Linked DNA regions of Homo sapiens: all the other regions are linked to region 6. Evidence: promoter capture Hi-C in 16 types of primary human blood cells and fetal thymus (Javierre and others, 2016). All regions are on one chromosome and are shown on one strand. The core of a region is centred on a gene start or on the middle of the fragment in contact, and the rest is flanking DNA. Distances in the headings are between cores, read along the strand shown. Region 1 overlaps MBD1 (methyl-CpG binding domain protein 1). Region 2 holds the start of MIR4743 (microRNA 4743). Region 3 overlaps CTIF (cap binding complex dependent translation initiation factor). Region 4 has its middle 4.6 kb from the start of CTIF. Region 5 overlaps SKA1 (spindle and kinetochore associated complex subunit 1). Region 6 holds the start of DYM (dymeclin). Region 7 has its middle 6.7 kb from the start of CXXC1.

Region 1 (2,700 bases), core at 94-2,593, 810 kb after region 6:
GGGCAGTAGTCAGGCCTGCAGCCAGGCCTGCAGCTGCTCCACCTTCCCCAGGATCATCCTTTCAGCTTCTCTAATTCCTGGGCCAGATGCATATTTAACTCTGTGAGGAAGGGCACCAGCTTCTTCTGCAGGACACCCACATCATCGAAGCTGGAGGTGGTGAGAGACTGACATGGGTTCCAGGCCATCCTCGTGGGTTCCAGCTCGTGCTCGTGGGCTCCACTGTGTCCTCGGTCTCCCACACTTTACATCCATCTTCCCTTCCCGAGTGCCTGCCCTGCAGACTTCAAGCTCCAGCATTAGATGCAAAGACAACAGCCTTACAGAGACTGTTTAACCAGCTCCCACAATGGCATGCGGTCAGATCCCTATAATAAATCCCTTAAAATACATATATACATAATCTTTATCTTAGTGGTTCTGCTCCTCTGATTGTACCCTAACATAAATGGTCAGCAGAAGCTTAACTCATGAGTCTAAATGTCAATCAAATAAATTTCATATAGATCATTGTCAAAATTACCAGAATACTGGGGTTGGGTGGTTGGTTCCTGGGGGAAACAAAGCAGTATCAGTCTATCCAGTCTTGACTAGGGCTGAACTAGTTAGGATGGAATAAAGGAAGGGGTGGGGAAGGTGGCAGAGGCTGGACTGTATGAGACAGAACTGGGAAATGGCTAATCCATGTCTGAATTACTTAAAGCTGCAGGGCTGGGACTAGGGTAAGGCAAGGGAGGCACACAGGATACAAAGTTTAAGGAGGCACTCACTCAGTCCTGGCCCTGTAAAGCTGGCTAACAAATTACAGGTCTAATCTTTTTGGCACTTTATGAATGAAGAATTGGGAGAGAGTGAGGTAGGGCTGAGCCAAGACTGGCTCTTGGGCAGGACTCGAAGCAGGAATTCAGCCTCCTAGAACACATTCAGGCTGAGGGCAGGAGCCAAGCACAAAGGTGATCACAGGGCAGGAGATGCACGTTGTCAGGAAAGATGAGCCAGGCTGGCAGCTTTAGTTACAAAGACTGCTCTGGCTGAAGAGGGGGAGTCAGGGTAACAAGCAAAATGGACAGCAGCCAGTGGGGAGATATATCCTGTAGGGTTTGAGGAATCCTATGCAGCACCTGGGGTCTGCAGGAAACCCAGTTTCTGTATGAACAGATGCTCTGACAAGGTGACCCCATCTACATTGAGCCTTGGCACTCCCTAAACCATGCTAGAGACAGGAATGTAAGGGATTTATTATAGTAATTATAGTAATCTGTGTTTTCAAGGTCACCGAAAACTCCTGTTAGTGCATACAGGATTACAGGTTACAGTTTAGTGGAGTAAAGAACAAGGGCTTTAAAAGCTGGGTTTGAGTCTAGGCTCTACTAACACCAGCTGTTCGACATTGGACAAATTAATGAGTCTCAGTTTTCCCATCCACATAAATGGACAAAATCAATGTCTTCCCAAAAATATTATTTTAAGGATTAAATAAACTGGGTCCACAGAGGAACACACCAAATAGCAGTTCCTTTCCTTATTTATTCAATTACATTTTCAATTGCTATCTCCCTGAGGAAGTATGTAGAGACACTGCCAGGTCTCATCCAGAAGCCACTTACAATTACTCATGAACATGGCTTGTTTAGGTTGTTTTGTGGTGGCTTTAATTATATTACCTTTCTCCAACCCAGCTCCCCCACCCTTAAAATCCAACTTCTTATACTCAGGCTCTTGGGGAGGAGAAGATGCACCAACTTTCTACTCTTTCTCTTCCTTTCCCGCTTACTTCTTCTAGAAGCTCAAAGTACTCTTAGGCCTGCTCTTCTGGTTTGGTAGTAGGTTTTTCCTCCTAGGGTTGATTCACACACAAGCCCTGGCAACCAATCTAGGGTCCAGCCCCTAGTAGATCAGTGTTGTCTCTCATAAAGCCAGTCTGCAAATATCACCTTGAATCCTACAGTCTGTAGAAGCCTCCAGTCTACTGCTTTCTAGCTCCAGGTTTTTTAAGGTCTTTGGACCTAGGGAAAAGGGAGCAGGTCTGTATGTTGAATGAGGTTTGCTATGTGCGCAATGGAGCATTACAAAACCATTTCCTACTATTCTGTGTCCTCCATCCACTTCCCCTTAATTATCCTTTATCTTTTTTTATATCTTCTAAAAACTACCATTATAGACAGCTTGTACATAGTCAGATTATAAGCTCCCTGAAGGTAGGTATCCTGTGTCTCCTGAAGGGTAAGCTTTGCAGGGCTCATTGTCCTCAATGCTGTGCACCCAACAGGAACTCAATCAATACTTCTGTAATTGGCCAAGTATAGATGAAAGGGTTTCTAGCCTGGTGGGCTGGTTTGTAGGAGCAAAGGAATCCAAGTGCTTAGGCCAATAGTTTACATCGCCAGTGTCTGGGGCTCTATGCAGGGTCTGTCAATATTCTGCAGGAGCCAGCACTCCTCTGTCCTCCCAACCACCCTAGTCCTTACAGGCATCTACCCTTTGTTCTATGCCAGGACTACAGGGACAGTTCTGCAAGGCATCTGAAGTTAATAACCTCAATAGGCTCAGGAAAGGCTCAAGAGATCCAGCCCAAGCCCTTCCACAGAGGCCGCTCCAGGAAGTGCAGGGCAACCAGAGATCACACAACTACGTGTGAACCCAGCTCACAAAGCCAGCTCGGAACCCAGATCTCCTGCCCATACCACTGCCCAGGCAAGC
Region 2 (2,700 bases), core at 43-2,542, 790 kb before region 6:
AATACCAGTAATAATAGTAACTGACAATACTTACTATGCACCGGCCATGCTCCAGCCTCTGTTCTAAGTGTTTGCCTCATTTATTTAAAACTCGCCACCACCCAGAGAGGGAGGAACTGTTACCATCTTCTCTTCAATAGATGAAGCAACTAGGAGACCCAGAAATTGAGTAATTTGCATGAGGCTGGGTTGGCTCCAGAATCTGTGTCCTTAATTAATCACCCTCCTGCCTCTTTGCCTAAACAACAGCAACAATATTAGTGGTAATGAAAGTAGTCATAGTAGTAGCAATATATTTACTTCATTATTTATTTTAATTTTGTTATTATTACCAGTATTTACCATTAAACATATGTGTGTATGTTTAAGATATATTTAATGGTAAATACAGATAATAATACATACACAAGAAATATACACACACACATTTATAAACAAACAAGCTAAACATTTATATATATATATATATATATATATATATATATATATATATATATATAAGCTAGACTATATATGTGTGTATATATGTACCGTTTACTGTGGGCTGTCACAGTTCTAAGCATCTAAGCACTCCAGATACATTCATTAATTTAATCCTCCAGCCACCTTAAGATGTTAGACACTATTATCCTCATTTAACAAATGAGGAAACTCATTTGATGAAATGAGTACAGAGAGGTTAAACAACTTGTACAGGGTCCCCAGTTGGTAAGGGATGCAGCGGGGATTCAAACCCTGGGAGTCTGGTTTCGGAATCTGCACCCTTAAATATGCCAAAGATTCAGACCTCTGGCCAGGGAGTTGGGGCCAGCCTCTCTGGCCCGAGGGCACGCCCACTCACAGAGGACATGAAGACAAAGCATAGACTATCTGAGTGGGCTTGCTGGACTGACCCAGAGTCAAGCCAAAAAGGAAGGAAGCCCTATTGGGTTTTCTGCTAGCCCCTGCCAGCCTATGTGACCTTGAGAAAGTTGCTTGGTGTCTCTGTCCACTGATCTTCTGTTCAGTGTAATGGGGCAAGGTGGATGGGCTTTGACAGGAGTTGTGATGAGTAAGGAGCTTAGCTTCTCTGCCTGGAAGGAGCAAGGGGAACTCTGGTTCCTCTCCCACCTCCCTCCAGGTTGGCTGTTGCATTACGGGAGGACCCCCCCCCCACACACACACAGCTTCTCTAGGGCTGTTTCCTCTAGGTGGGACAGCCCCTGCAGGGCTTGAGGGTGGGCAGCACCAGGTATCTGCTGACTGTCCCTCCTCTCCTGCTGGCCGGATGGGACAGGAGGCATGAATGAGCCATCTTTCCAATGCCTTTCTGTCTTTTCTGGTCCAGGTGTGGCAAAGGGAAGCTGGAAGATGGGGATGGCATCAACCTGAATGACATCGAGAAGGTCCTTCCAGCCTGGCAGGTAGGTGCAGGGGCAGGCTCTCTAACAGCCCACCCCCACCCCTGGAGTCCTGATCCTCTTCCTGGACAGGACCTAACCAAAGCACTCCTTCTGGCTGCTTGTTCCAGCAAGGAGTGTAACCGCCTGTATGGTAGTAATAGGCAGGGCTGGCTACCTGCCATTCTCCAGGGTGTCCCATTGTGATCGTGTGTGTGACAGCCTACTCGGTGATGCTGCAGGCCCTGCTGGCAGGCCTGATGTGCCCTAGAGATGAAATAGACCATGCCCTGGCAACTCAGTGAACTTGGAAGTTTTTGTCCCTTGGCCTGAAACCTCTCTGCAGGTGAAGTGTCCTGTGGTGTGTTCAGGTGGGACTGGCAGGCCTGGAAGAGATTCTAATGTGGCTGGGGCTGTCTTTAGGCTTTTGAACAGTGGACTTGCCCTGCTGGCCTCCAGGTGTCTGCTATGCTTGCTCTTTTTTTTATTGATTGGGCCTCTTTCCTGGAATCAGGCCAGGTTCCAGGACAAAGAGGATTCACTCAGTGAATCCAGGTCTCTAGATACTTATAGTGCTGGACTTTTGGTGGAAACAGCAGGAGTCTAGCTGCTCTCAGGAGTGTGACTGGGCCTGCTGCAGGGGTGTAAAAGCAGTGGACCTTCCACAGTGACTGAGTCTGCCGCTGCCAGTGACCATGACCTACCACCACACTCCACTGTGCCACCCTTCCCTTCTCTCCTGATTCTTCTCCTGCTATTTTATCTATATCCATTCATCTCTTCCTGGTGCCTTTGCCATTTTGTTTCTTCTCTGTTCATGCCTTGGGCCTATCAATGAGAGACAATAGAGCATACAGTTAAGACCTCATCTATTTGATTATGATGTGCCTTGGTGTGGTGGTTTTCTTCATGTTTCTCCCACTTGGGATTTATTGAGTTTCTTGGATCTGTAGGTTTATAGTTTCATCAAATTTGGAAAATTTTCAGCCACGATTCCTCCTACTTTCCCTCAACCCTGGGGTTCCAATTGTATGTATTCTATGCTTCTTCATCTTTTCCCATGGCTCACCAAAGCTCTGCCTGATTTTTTAAAGTCTTTCTTTACTCTCTGTGTTTCATTTTGGATAGCTTTTATTGCTATTTCTTCAAGTTCACTAATATTTTATTCCAGTGTCAAATCTACTGTTAATCCCATTCAGTATATTTTTCATTTCAGACATTGTAGTTTTTATCTCTCGAAGGTCATTGTGGGCTTTTTTAATAAGCCACTGTGTCCAGCTAGAATCTGCATTTTTAAAGCATTGTAGGAAATTCTGATTAT
Region 3 (2,700 bases), core at 179-2,678, 690 kb before region 6:
CGACAGAGTGAGACTCTAAAAAACAAAAAAGAATCCATCTCAGGAAGTCATCAATTGGGATTTCAAAATCCACCCTGTGGAATAATCCCACTGTGTTTCCAGGGGTCGCTGAGTCTCTGAGCTTTCTGGGCCTCTGGAGGTCAAGGGTACCTGAAGAAACCCCTGCACTCTCCATTCGCCCTAGTCCCTGTGAAACCACACAGGCTGCTGGCCCCAGTTCCCATCTCCTCCTTGCATCCTCTCCCTCTTCTCAGACCCCCTCCCTCATTTCTGCACACCCACCGCTGAGCCGATGTGCACTCCAGGCATGTAAACTAATTTTAATGTTGGCCCAAGCCAGGCACACCCAGGGATAGAAGCACATTGTTCTGTGCATTCCAAAGCTTGAGCAAAAGCCCTGGCCATACCCACATCGAGCTCCCCTCCACTAGTTGCTAGAAATCAGAAAGGCTGAAGCAAAGGGCCAGAGGCAGTGCAAGCCGCTTTCCCCGTGGGCAGGCTGCACGGAAGCTTGCAAAAGCCCAGAAAAGGGCTGTTTTTCTAAAAATGGCTGGCATCTGAGCTCCCGCCCTGCCCCCTGTGGGCCATCTGTCCCCATGCTGAAGCCCGTGCCCTGCAAGGGACATGCAGAGTTGGCACACACATTTCCCTGAAGGTGGGCACCAACAGGCCTCGTCAGGCTGGCCTGGCATCACAGGAGGCCAGCAGTCACAGGAGCTTGACCCCTGCCCAGGATTCTGTGGCAGCCCTGGGCTCCCCCAACAGGAAGAGCCAATGCCTGACTCCTATCCATGTTCTTTGCCCCTGCGGCCAGAGCCACAGTGGATAGGAGCCGTGTGCCTCGTTGCCAATCTTGTTGTCTGCACTTGCTTTGGGATGAGTAAATATGACCTGCTTTTCTCCAATCTTTATTTCTTCTCAACGCTTATTGAGCACCTGCTATATACCATGCACTGTGGCAGGTCCTGTATGTCTCTGTTCATTTGCCCTCCACTGTGGTCTTTCAATCTGTTTGTGCAAATCTTAAGCATTGCATTCAAGGACCCAGGTGGGATACCTCAATGTCAGTGCTTAGACCAGATCGCCCTGACTGTTCAGTTTGGGTGGGGCGGGGGAACATGTGGCTTCCAGGAGTGCTAAGCCTGTGGTTCTCTCTGGAGCTTTGAAGTGCTCAGTGAGACAGAGCAGCCGATGACCGGATCATAAACAAGCATTTTGATTTTTGAATCTGAAAATAAGCGAGGAAAGAAAATGACCACTGATCCTCAGCCAGTCCTGGAAAGTGCCCAGAACAGCAGCATGCCAGGTGTCCAGTCATCATATCATCAGGGGGGCCTGGGTGCTGCTGCTGTGCCAACTACTGCCCCAGGCCCCCAGGGACCAGTGAGCTTCCTGCAAAACCAAGTGCCCAGCTTCCTGCCTCTTTGCCACTGCGCCACTGTGCCACTGCGCCACTGCGCCACTACTGTGTTCTTCAAAATCACAGAGAGCCCCGCTCCTGAGAAAGCCCAAAGTGCCTTTCTGTGCACGGCATGGGCTTTTACAAGTCTCATGGGCAGTCTACTGCAGGCCTTGTCAGAGACTCTAGATGTGCAGAGGCTGAGGGAGCCTTGGACAAAAGTCACTCCTTTCCCGTGAAAAGTGGCCATTGCCCTGTGTTGTTAGGAGCGTGGGTGGCTCAGGAGGGGAGAGCAAGACCAGCCTGCAGCTTCATGAATCAGGTCAGCTGGGCCATCTGGAGCAGACAGGTGTGGGTCGTGCCCCCGAATCTCATTTCTCTAGACAGGATTTCTTGCCCTGAGGCAGCAACGCTGAGGCCTGAGGAGTAGCAAACCTGTGCAGTAGCATCGATTGCTGCCTCGATGCTGATCTTGAGCATTTAAAACATGTCTCTGCACCCACGTTTCCGTCCTGCAAGGGATGATTGGGTTGTGGTAGAGCTTAAATGAGGTAATGCATGCACGGACCCCAGCTCTGAGCCACACCACTCGGATGGCTCCATCAGTGTGGGTGCCCTGCCCTGGTGGGATGAACTGGGAGGCCCTTCTAACTTTATCCCATCCTAGATTCCCAAAGACCACCCCATGCCTCAGTCTTGGGCAGCATTTCCATTTCCCCCCCCTACGCTGATTAAATGTGGAACAATGAGGGCAGGCAATGAGTGCTTTTAGACTATTGTCTTCCTGGGCGGTGGGCCCAGGATTGACAGGTGTACTCTTCCTCCTAGTCAAATCTGCCTCCTCCAGGAAACCTTCCCTGATCTCCCAGCCCAGGGACCTCACCTTCCTCTGACTCTTGAACATTTACCATGTGTCCCTTTCATGAAGTCTTCTGGGCTCCCCTGTTTAAGCTTTTCTTATCTGAGACTTGTATCTGTGGATGTCTTGGGGCAAAGAATGCGTCTGGGTCATCTTTGTGTCCCACCACCATACTGGTACCCACAAGGTATTCATCAGGCATCAGCTGGCTGGCTCCAGGAGCTTCCTTCACTGGGGAGGAAGGAGCATGGATAGGCAGGCATGGGAATAGCACAGGCCACAGCCACAAAAGGGAATGGCCTGGGGTTTTCTCCCTCTCGCTTCTGGGCCAGGAGAGCTTTACCCAGGTCAGGAATTATTTCACCATCACCCGTGTCCCTTGCCAGACCGTGTCCCCTTCCCTGCATGCCCTCACCCCCCACCCAGGGTTCATTTTCCCTGC
Region 4 (2,700 bases), core at 41-2,540, 930 kb before region 6:
TAATGTCTTGAGATGAGGGGCGTAGTTAACTCACTGGCTCTGAGGCCCACAGCTCTGGGTAGACCACCACCTACCCACTGGCTGCGTGCCCCTTGGTAAGCTACTTCACCCCTTCCGGTCTCAGTTTGTTCCCCTGTAAAAGTTGCTTTGCCAACTAAGTGAGACAAAGCACACAAAAAAAGTTTCGCTTGTTGCTCTGTAAATAGTAATAGCTCAATTAATATAGTAGCTATTGTTCTTTGAAAGGGGACTTAGAGATCCTGGAAGGCTCAAGGGCAATTATTTTGCAGATATTTCAGAACAAGACTTGAGCAGACAGGATTTATAAACTGACTGAAGAGGGAGACACCTGGGATAGAAAACGGAAGGGCATCTTCAGCAGGGGGACAGTCCCAGCTAGAGGGATCATATTGGCCTAACTCCTCTCTCTGCACTTCCTGTCTTTCAGGCTGTTCTAGATGTGGCTCTTCAAACTACAAAGATCGGAAGTCACTCAACCTAGCGCAAATTAAAGGGGATTACTACAAGAATATGGAGTGTATTAGGCTGTTCTTGCATTGCTATAAAGAAATATCTAAGGCTAAGTGATTTATAAGAAAAGAGGTTTAATTGGCTTATGATTCTGCAGGATGTACAGGAAGCATAACACTGACATCTGCTTCTGGGGAGGCCTCAGGAAGTTTTACTCATGGTGCAAGGTGAAATGAGAGCTTTCAAGTAACATGGTGAAAGGAGAAGCGAGAGAGAGAGAGAGAGAGAGAGAGACAGAGGTGGGGAGGTGCCACATACTTTTGAATGACCAGATCTCACATGAACTCACTCACTATTGTGAAGATAGCACCAACGGAATGGTGCTAAACCATTCATGAGAAATCCACCTCCATGATCCAACCACGTCCCACCAGGCCCCACCTCCAACATTGAGGATTACAATTCCACATGAGATTCAGAGGGAACACAGATCCAAATGATATCGCAGAGGTATATGGAGTCCAAGAGAGGCATAGTGAGGGAGAACTGAAAAGGTAAGGAACTGAGGCTACTCTAAACATGTCTCTTTCCCTCTCCCTCCTCTTTCCCCCCTCCACTCACTTCTTCTGCTTACTTATCTTGCACTCGACCCACCTAAAACACAAGCCTTGACCTGAGCAGCCATCACCAATGAGCAGAGAGAGGTTTCTCAGCCTCTTACTTCAGATTCTTACAAGAGGAATTCTGATTGGCTCAGTTCCTCTGATGGAGCCACATCCACTCAAGTCCAGCCTAGCCCAAGATCCCATAGATCGGGTGTATACCTGTGGTGTGATCAGCACTGCCTTCCCCTCCCATTTTTTTTAGAGTGTAGACTGGCAAACAAGGAAACTTGTCTCTTGCAGAGATGTGGGGTGTATCTTTGTCCAGGCCTTCACCATGAACAAGGCTGTGGTGCTCACGCCACCGACTTAGGAGGTCTGACCTTGAACTCTGGGAGACTTGAGGAATGTCTGATGACTCACAGGCTGACATTGAATCAGTCCATGTCCTTAAATCTTGCAAAAGGAAATCTGCTTATTTTATATTCCCTCATGGACTTCAGGGCTTTGTTTAACAAATATTACAAACCTTTCCTGCTCTGCTGGAATTAAACAGCTTAAAATTCATCCTTTTGGCTACTTAATTTTCTTGCTTCTTTTGCCAGTGAGATTATAACATTCTTGAAGGGAGAATTTCAGGTGTGGTGAAGATCTTAGAGATCATTGAGGCCAACCTTCTCATTTTACAGGTGTGGAAACTGAGGCCCAGAGACAGGAAACGTCACACAGCAGGAGAGGGGCAGGTGGGACCCGGGATCCCGTTTCACACACTGTGTTCCCCAGAGTACCTTGCCATGTCTTAGGCACAGCATTGTCCCAACAAATATTCAATTGCTTTATTTCATATTCTGCTTTTGCTTTTCTCAAGCTCATTGTTCTCTATTCACATCCCTTCTCTACCACCGACTTCAATCTTAGGGGATCACTTTGCATGTGCCTTTCAGGTGTTGGTCTTTGGGGTTGTGTAGTGGAAGGTGAGATGAGGCATGGGTGAAATTTCACCTGGTTCTATCAAGCTGTTATCTCTCCAGGCCAACACCACGGTAACAGAGCGTAGACACTAGACTACCAACTTCCTTCCTTCTGCACTGTCAGTGGCCTCCAAACTGCATGATGAAGCCACTCTCTAGCTCCCACAGTAAGTCACTAGTTCTGCAATGCCTCCTGGGCCAACACCGCATAACAGGAATTTTGGCCACTGCTGACCTTCTCCCAGTGGGAAGTAACAAGTGGATGTAGCCCCACCTTCCTCCCAGAAGCCTTCTCTGATCCTTGTAGCCGACTGGGAACTCTTAGTTCATTTGACATCACTCTCACACAGTGGAGCGCTTCATTCATTTTCCTGTTATCTGCTGGGCATCAGCCTGGTCTCAGCTCCTGAAGGTAGGTAGCTTCTCTCCCCCAGCACCTACCTAGGCTCCCACCAGGCCTTCAGTCAATGTGTGGACTGACCAGTAACTTTTCCCTGGAACAGCTATGGCTACGGGGGTGAGTGGAGAGAAGTCATGGCAAGAAAGGAGAACTAGTACTTTTTGCTATTATCTTAGGCAAGTGTGAATGAGGAGAAGCAACTCCTTAAAACAAACAGAAACATTCTGACTTTTCATTTCTAGGCAGACAGGGAAAC
Region 5 (2,700 bases), core at 188-2,687, 920 kb after region 6:
GACGTAGAAGGATGCTTGTTTTACCTCGCATTTCTAAGTGTTTTAATAAGTGGAAGAATTTGCCAGAAACAAAAGACGCAGGAGAGACATTGTCCTTGCCTCTCGCCTCCTTCTGTTCCATACTACTTAGAAATGAGGTTTCAGGATTGTCCATGGAGTCATTTTCTAGGGGCTAAAGCAGTAGACCTTTTTCCACCCCTCTCTAAGGTACAGCTATCTATTCTAAGAGTTCGCATGAGTACTTATAGCTACTGCTTTTCTATACACTTTGTTTTCTATTTTATTTTTGTTTATAACAGGCCAGGAACCTACCTTGAAAACTGTATTAAATAAAATAGGAGATGAGATCATTGTAATAAATGAACTTCTAAATAAATTGGAATTGGAAATTCAGTATCAAGAACAAACCAACAATTCACTCAAGGTAATGTTTCTCTAATGAGGAAGCAGTAAAAAAGACAATACATACAAACTCCCTAATCATTAAGTAATTTTTAAGGATGCTTTGTTTATAATGTTTTTTGTTTATAAATTATTAATGGTACAGTATGCCATTTATGTTTTATTTTCCTAGTATAGTGGAATTTGGAGCTCCACAGCTGCTACTTTCTGCTGATGGCCAGTGGAATTGAACTTTACTAAAAAGGAGAGTTTGCTAATAATTCTTGGTAGCTTTAATTTAAACAATGATGTTCTAGTAGAGTGGTATGTAAAGAACACCTGCTTTGGGTGAGGAGATATGGATTCTTACCTTGGTGGTCCTTGGTACTCTCTGCCACCCTGAGAAAGCTATTTTACCTGTTGGGGTTTCAAGAACCTCATCTGAAAAAATAATGGATCATATTGAACTGTTTCTTAGCTCCCTTATATGTCTATATTTCTATATTTTTATAAAAGGTAATATAAGGGTTCTCAGGTAAAGAAAAACTTGAGCCTCATTCACATGCACATTTTATTCTAAACAAGCCTTCAAATTGAGTTCAGCTAATAAAAGTGCTGGTGCACTTCCTGAGGGGGAAATAATCTGTACCATAATTACCTCACATTGTTAGAGCTGGGGAATTGCTCAGTGGGATTGAACAAGGGACCTCCCTGACCCCATTCAGCCTTATAATCCTTAAAGTCTGTAAAGATTGTTCAGCTATAGGAATGGGCATGATTATGCCTATCACTCTAATAGTCAAAATGGAATTGGTATCCATGAATGTCATTCACCTCTTCAAGGAAAAGACATTATATAAATTCAAAACAGAAACCAATACCGGCATTTCAGTTCTAACCTGCCCAAGAATGTCCAGGGTTAGGTGTGGGCCTAGAGAATGCTCAACTCAGAACTGAAGGCTATTTGGAATTTCTGTTCACATTGTGATTGGGAGCCAGATGGCGGGAATCCAAAGGCACAAAATATTTTCCTTATTAAAATGTGTATGAGTTCATAGCCTCAAGTTCTAGTAAAAGTTAGAGACCAAAACACCCCAGCTTTCAAGTAGAAATTTTCATTAAGCTGGCATGTAGGTAGCCCACAGTGGAAGTCATCCTAAAGCAGCATCTCATGCTTGCCAGCTGGGTATATTACCATGCTGTGATAATATGGTTGCTGTTACACAGGTAACACTGGGGAGCATTTGGTAAGCCAACAAACGCAATTTATGAGAATGAAAAACATAAGTTCTTTATATATTTCTTAGTTATCTCCCAAGATTAAAGTATTTGAGAAAGACTTAACTTTAGTCCTGCTTTGTAATTGCAATGTGATTATAGTGATTGTTCCCTGAAAAAAATCCAGTAGAGAAAAATATTACCACCATCCAAAAACAGCTCTAGAAACCAATTTTTTATTGCTGGATTCATTGCTTTTTCACTTCATTCTGCATTTTCGGTACTCCAGTCAATGTGGTTTTTTTTTTTTTTTTTTTTTGAGACGAGCCTTTCTCTGTCGCCCAGGCTGGAGTGCAGTGGCGCGATCTCAGCTCACTGCAGCCTCCTCCTCCCAGGTTCAAGCAGTTCTCCCCCCTCAGCCTCCTGAGTAGCTGGGACTATAGGCGCGTGCCACCACGCCCGGCTAAATTTTTGTATTTTTAGTAGAGATGGGGTTTCACAGTGTTAGTGGGGATGGTCTCGATCTCCTGACCTCATGATCCACCCGCCTTAGCCTCCCAAGGTGCTGGGATTACAGGCATGAGCCACCGCGTCCAGCCACAGTCACTGTGATTATGGTTCACTGTTTTCCCTGCTCTTTAGAATATCTTAAAACACACATGGGGAGGACAGAGACTTATTTGTGAGCACTTTTAAATTTTAGGAACTCTGTGAATCTCTTGAAGAAGATTACAAAGACATAGAACATCTTAAAGAAAACGTTCCTTCCCATTTGCCTCAAGTAACAGTAACCCAGAGCTGGTAAGTGTATTTATAATTATTCTTGCTATCTGGATTTATAAACCCATGAAAACAAGTTCTTCAAAGCCTTTTGTTCTTTCATATACTTGCAGTTTTGTCAGCGATGATCTAGTTTTTTGTCACCTATACTAAAAACAGTATTTCCATGTTCACCAGTTTTCTTATCTTGGTGTCTCTGAGGAAAATCTAACACTTCTTTCCCAGTTTGCCAAGGGCAAGTCTCTCTAGCCTCTCTTTTTTCACTCATTTCTTTCCCTGAGAGCAGTTTGTCAACTGACGTTTGTTCCTTGACATTTTAGG
Region 6 (2,700 bases), core at 138-2,637:
ACACCTAACCTCTAAAAGACTAGTTCTTCATTTACAGAATGGGAATATTCATACTTGTCCGGTCTATCTCCAAGTTGCTGAGAGGATTATCTAAAATAAAACTTCAAAGCAGGATAATCACTCCAGAAATCCATATATTCATAAATTTCATCCTCTGCAACAACCATTCACCCATTCCTATAGATTCTCTTCCCTTCCACCTCGTTCTTCTCTTGAGCCCTCAACTCATCAGCCTAAGCACCTGAGTTCCTCTGGTGGACGCTACATTCCTCTCCACGGCCTCCACCCTCCAGGTTTTCATCCTTCAGCACATCACCCTTGCTCTACACACCCCTCTCTCCAACTTCCCCTCTCCTCTTTCAAGGAACTCACTCCATCTGTGCCCCCTAATCAGTCTATCCTGGGTACCCGCTTTGCTGGCCGATTACAATCATCCCATCACTTCTCTACCCCTGTTCAGTAGAGAACAGCTTTATCCAATCAGCTTTACCACACCAATACCCTCAAACCCCACTACTGCCCCCAGTTCACAAACACCCACCCTTTCACTTTTCAGTCAAAACACAATTGCTCAGGCAAATCCACGGCGACTGAAAGTAGATCAATAGTGTAGGGGAGAGAAGGAGGAGTGACTGCTAATGGGTACGAGCTTCTTTGGGGCGGGGGGGGCGGTGATTAAAAATGCTCTGGAGTTAAGGGTGGTGATGGCTGCTCAACCCTGTGAATATACTAAAAACCACTGAGTTGTACTTTTAAAGGGTTAATTTTCTGATATGTTAGTTATACCTCGATAAACTATGAATGTAAAAAGAAGAAAGAAAAACCCAACAGCTATTGCTCACCCTGCCCATCACACGCCCATTTGTCAGACCAACACCGCCCCATCTCCGGAAGCACCGACTTGGCCTTCGGTATCCCCCAACTCCCAACAGCGGACTCGGACAGAGGTCCGTCCGCTGTCAGCACAGCCCCTCCGGGTGGCCCAGGCGCCCGCGGGCAGGGAAGGGAGGGTCCCTTCGCCGCCGCCCCGGGGCGCTGGCCGGGTTGCGGAGGGTGGCCCCTGACCCCCTCTGACAGGAGGCCGGGGACAGCCAGGCTTTCGGGCCCGGCCGCGCTGAGGGGGGCGGCGCTACAGCCCACCTGTCTCAGCCGGCTGGGGGATCTGCTCCAGCTCCACGGACCCGCGGACGGATGGGAGGGTGGCAGAGGGGTCAGGAGAAGTCGCTGTCGCCGCCGCAGCCCAGGTGGCGCACACCGGCTCAGGCCTCCATGTTTCCACGTCTCAGCGGGTACAGATCCGGCTCCGGTCCGGCCTGCAGCTCGGCCCCGGCTCGGCTCCAGCCCGGGCCGCGTCGGTGCGGAGGCCAGGAGGCGGCGAGAGAAGAGGGAAGCGACCGAGAACGCGGCTAGGGACCAGACCCCCAGGCGCGCGCGCCAGCCAGGTGGTCACGTGGCACGCGGCGCGCGCGGGCTTCTGGAAACTGTAGTCCTTTGGGTGTTATTCGTGCCTCCGCCCTCCTAGTACCTCCTGGGCTACCGCAAAGCCACGTGGCGAAATCGAGAAGCGCAAAAACAGCCGTGCGCGGTGGCTCACGCCTGTAATCCCAGCACTTTAGGAGGCCGAGGTGGACGGATCACGAGGTCAGGAGATCGAGACCATCCTGGCCAGCATGGTGAAACCCCGTCTCCACTAAAAATACAAAAAGTAGCTGTTTGAGACAGGATAATCGTTTGAACCCGAGAGGCGGAGATTGCAGTGAGTCAAAAAGTAGCTGTCTGAGGCAGGAGAATCGTTTGAACCCGAGAGGCGGAGATTGCAGTGAGTCGAGATCGGGCCACTGCACTCCAGCCTTGCGACAGAGCTCGACTCTTCTCAAAAAAAAAAAAAGAGAGAGAGAGAGAAGCGCAAAAACCTCACCTGCCGGGTGCTAGAGTCAACCTCACCTGCCAGGTGCTAGAGTCCTCGCTCATGCTACACCGCTCGTTCTGGCGGCTTAACCTTATTAAGGCCTCTGTTAATTGCAGCTGAATAACCATCCCAAAGTCAAGCAATATTGTGTGGGATTCTGGAGAATTGAGAAATAGCAAAATAATTTTTGATGGAGGCAGCTGGCAGGGCTAGCCCTGCCTGCAAAGTTGTCGGAAAGGACAGGTCCCACGGGAAAGAGTAGCAATATGAGATAGTGCCAAAACTATGGAATTTGAAGTCAAATGAGCTGAGGTTTCCACACTGACGTCTTTGAGCAATTACTTCACCTCTCTCAGCCAGTTTCCTCACCTAAAATATATGCATGATGATGATTCTGCCATTACAGGAAATGTTGACATGACTGTAGTAATAACAATTCACATTATGGATTATTTTCTATTTGCCATGCACTATTATTTCGCAAAATGACCCTATGGAACAGATAGCACCGTTATTCCCATTATATAGTCAATATGTGCCAGTGTACTCTGTAAAGTACTATACAAATATTAGGTATTCTTTTCTAGCATAGACTGCCAGTAAATTCACTGAGCTTGCAGAATTATGACAGGAAAACATATTAAAACCCAAAGTAGACTGGGCCCTGTGGCTTATGCCTGTAATCCCAATACTTTGGGAGGCTAAGGTGGGAGGATCACTTGAGCCCAGGAGTTCGGAAGGACCAGCCTGAGCAACATAGCGATACACTGTCTCAACAAAAAATACAAAAA
Region 7 (2,700 bases), core at 63-2,562, 830 kb after region 6:
AGAACAAAGTGTTACAGCTTGAGTTTGATTCTAGGCTCTACTAATACTAGCTGCTTTACATTGCAGAGTGTAGTTAATCTTTCTGAGAACTTTTTCTCATCTATAAAAATGGGCAAAATTAACATCCTCCTAGAAAGACATCTGAGAGAATAATATGAATTAGGTCCAGAATGGGAACTCTCCAAATAGTGCCATGCGGTAAAAGATTAACTCAGCAGGCCTTGGTTGTTCAAACCTTCACATGAAAAAAAAATCTGATATTTGACTGGCTCTTGGGAGATAACCTTAAAGTGCTCAGAATTACTTGCCTAATAAGAATGTTCAGCTGGGCACAGTGGCTCACATCTGTAATCCCAGCACTTTGGTAGGCCAAGGTGGGTGGATCACCTGAGGTCAGGAGTTCAAGACCAGCCTGGCCAAGATGGGTAAACCCTGTCTCTACTAAAAATACAAAAATTAGCCAGGTGTGGTGGCGGGTGCCTGTAATCCCACTTACTCAGGAGGTTGAGGCAGGAGAATTGCTTGAACTCAGGAGGTGGAGGCTGCAGTGAGCCCAGATCACGCCATTGCACTCCAGCCTGGATGACAGAGCAAGACTCTGTCTCAAAAAGAAAAAAAGAATGTTTATATTTACCTAGGATCTTGGTCCACACCAGATAGTTTATGATAGCAATGTGATTTGTGGTGGGGACCTTGGGCCACAGGGTATCAATATGAACTCTGGAGAGGCCGGAGACTGAGTAACCAAGGTCAGCAATGGCACCCTCCATACTCATGTAACCAATCCCCTAATAAAAACCCTGGACACCAAAGCTTGGATGAGCTTCCCTGGTTTGCAATACTTCATTCATGTTATCACAACACTGTTTCTGGGATAATTAAGTGCTGTTTATATGACTCCTCTAGGAGAGGAGAACTGGAAGCATGGTCTTTCCTGTACTATAGCCTATGAGCCTTTTTGCTCATTCAATCTGTATTCTTTTGCTGTAACAAACTAATTGGGAGCTTAGCAGTGTTTTTGTATTCTGTGTGTTCTTCTAGTGAGTCATTGAACCTGAGGATGGTCTTAGGACACCTGACACAAATATCCTTTTTCCTCATATATTATACTTTCAAGCTGATGTCTCTGAAATGTTTAAAGACTGCCAAATGTCATGAACCAGTCATTTAATATCATTGATGAGGAGGACTTGTTTAGTAGCTTTAATTCTAATCTGCTCCCTCCCTACTACAGCTTCCCCGTCCCTAACAGCCACATTTCTTTTTTTTTTTCTAGATAGAGTCTCACTTTTGTCACCCAGGCTGGAGTGCAGTGATGCAATCTCAGCTCACTACAACCTCCGCCTCCCAGGTTCAAGTGATTCTCCTGCCTCAGCCTCCTGAGTAGCTGGGATTAGAGGTGCCCACCACCACACCCAGCTAATTTGTATATTTTTAGTGGAGATGGGGTTTCACCATGTTGGCCAGGCTAGTCTCGAACTCCTGACCTCAGGTGATCTGTCCACCTTAGCCTCCCAAAGTGCTGGCATTACAGGTGTGAGCCACCGCACCTGGCCCACATTTCTTATCACACTCAGGTTCCTAGAGAGGAACAAGTGCACCAGTTTTCTAATCTGACTTCTTCCTTTCCCACTTACGCCCTCTGAAAAAACCAAAAAGAATTAAATAGGCTTGCTTCTCTGGTTTGGTGGTAGATTCTTCTACTTTTTATTCCTACCCAACTCCTACGAACCAATTTCTATCCTGAATAGGTCAGTTTCTATCCATCGCAAAGCTCATCTGTAAATATCACCTTGAATTTTATAGCCTGCAGAAGCTTCCAGTTTGTGTTTTTTAGCCCCAGATCATGATGTCCTTGGTCCTACAGAAGACAGAGCAAATCTGAGGTTTGTCATACACAAAATGGAGCATTATAAAACCCTTTGGTACTGGTCTGTGTTCATGATAATTTTTTTTCTTGATTATCCCTGTGTTCTCTTCCAAAAGTTGCCGTTACAGACACCAGAACACTCCTGTAATTTTGTTAATCTGCAATGGTTTCATATATGAGCAAGTTGTTTCCTCAATGAAATTATAAACTCCCTGAAGGTAAGAACTAAGCATCTCTTGAAGAGTAAACCACACAAGGTGAATTGAATCCACAGTTGTGTTTCCTGCAGTGCTGTGAACACAGAATTGGTTTCATTACCATCTCTGTAATTGTCTATGTGCAAAGGGGGTTTTTAATGTGGCTTCTCGGGGTTGGTTTGAAGGAACAACAGAATAGAGGTGCTTGACCAACAGTTTAAGTTGCCTTCGTCTGGAGTACTGTGGAAGGCCCATCAATAATCTGCAGCACGCAGCATTCCCCAGGCCTCCTTCACTGTTTCTGTCCTTGAAGGTACCTGCTGTTCCCATTTCCAAGCCTGCAGGACCAACTCTACACAGCAAGTTCTCACAATTCAATTACAATCAAATCAAGCAGGCTCAGGAAAATCTCAAGAGTCACTTAGAGCAGCAGGAACCCAGGAACACATGGCTGGTTAACCACCTATTCAGGCACTGTCTCCTGCCTGGGCCAATCCCCTTTTCCATGTCACACACTACACATAGCAAGGGGACAACTATCCTGGGAGTCTAGGGGAGAGTAAAAGTGTTCACGATCCCAATGATAATTCTCCAGGTATGGAATTTGTATATTTTAAATCTGGCCTATGAGAG

The links. Contacts are between HindIII fragments. The CHiCAGO score rates a contact against its expected background, and 5 or more counts as called.
Region 1: a contact is called between a fragment that was not itself captured here and the fragment with the promoter of DYM in region 6, in 6 of 17 cell types (total CD8 T cells, naive CD8 T cells, non-activated CD4 T cells and 3 more). The highest score is 8.3, in total CD8 T cells.
Region 2: a contact is called between a fragment that was not itself captured here and the fragment with the promoter of DYM in region 6, in 10 of 17 cell types (neutrophils, fetal thymus, naive CD8 T cells and 7 more). The highest score is 17.7, in neutrophils.
Region 3: a fragment that was not itself captured here is called in contact with the fragment with the promoter of DYM in region 6 in 1 of 17 cell types (neutrophils); the score reaches 6.0 in neutrophils.
Region 4: a fragment that was not itself captured here is called in contact with the fragment with the promoter of DYM in region 6 in 3 of 17 cell types (neutrophils, monocytes and non-activated CD4 T cells); the score reaches 6.4 in neutrophils.
Region 5: a fragment that was not itself captured here is called in contact with the fragment with the promoter of DYM in region 6 in 1 of 17 cell types (total B cells); the score reaches 7.0 in total B cells.
Region 7: a contact is called between a fragment that was not itself captured here and the fragment with the promoter of DYM in region 6, in 2 of 17 cell types (total CD8 T cells and non-activated CD4 T cells). The highest score is 5.1, in total CD8 T cells.

The regions. Positions count from the first base shown.
Region 1 is chr18:50,269,535-50,272,234 of GRCh38, forward strand. MBD1 (methyl-CpG binding domain protein 1) reads right to left here. Exons shown (of 17, transcript NM_015846.4): 16 at 1,935-2,006; 17 at 1-284. The coding sequence ends at 1,967. Among named protein-coding and RNA genes, the nearest start is that of CFAP53, 4.4 kb to the left of the region's middle. The HindIII fragment of the contact is 1,766 bases long and covers 461-2,226 here.
Region 2 is chr18:48,669,342-48,672,041 of GRCh38, forward strand. It overlaps CTIF (cap binding complex dependent translation initiation factor), which reads left to right. Exons shown (of 12, transcript NM_014772.3): 6 at 1,328-1,403. It overlaps MIR4743 (microRNA 4743), which reads left to right and starts at 1,259; the gene lies at 1,259-1,327. The HindIII fragment of the contact is 6,169 bases long and covers 1-2,700 here.
Region 3 is chr18:48,768,882-48,771,581 of GRCh38, forward strand. All of the region lies in intron 9 of CTIF (cap binding complex dependent translation initiation factor), which reads left to right. LOC107985147 (a long non-coding RNA gene) reads left to right here. Exons shown (of 2, transcript XR_001753444.2): 1 at 1-2,700. Among named protein-coding and RNA genes, the nearest start is that of CTIF-AS1, 72 kb to the right of the region's middle. The HindIII fragment of the contact is 1,840 bases long and covers 509-2,348 here.
Region 4 is chr18:48,533,121-48,535,820 of GRCh38, forward strand. No RefSeq gene overlaps it. Among named protein-coding and RNA genes, the nearest start is that of CTIF, 4.6 kb to the right of the region's middle. The HindIII fragment of the contact is 4,820 bases long and covers 1-2,700 here.
Region 5 is chr18:50,379,827-50,382,526 of GRCh38, forward strand. It overlaps SKA1 (spindle and kinetochore associated complex subunit 1), which reads left to right. Exons shown (of 7, transcript NM_145060.4): 3 at 300-424; 4 at 2,303-2,400. Among named protein-coding and RNA genes, the nearest start is that of SKA1, 6.1 kb to the left of the region's middle. The HindIII fragment of the contact is 2,899 bases long and covers 1-2,700 here.
Region 6 is chr18:49,459,258-49,461,957 of GRCh38, forward strand. DYM (dymeclin) reads right to left here and starts at 1,388. Exons shown (of 18, transcript NM_001353214.3): 1 at 1,141-1,388. RefSeq lists a silencer at 787-1,366. The HindIII fragment of the contact is 8,649 bases long and covers 1-2,700 here.
Region 7 is chr18:50,293,007-50,295,706 of GRCh38, forward strand. No RefSeq gene overlaps it. Among named protein-coding and RNA genes, the nearest start is that of CXXC1, 6.7 kb to the left of the region's middle. The HindIII fragment of the contact is 1,003 bases long and covers 812-1,814 here.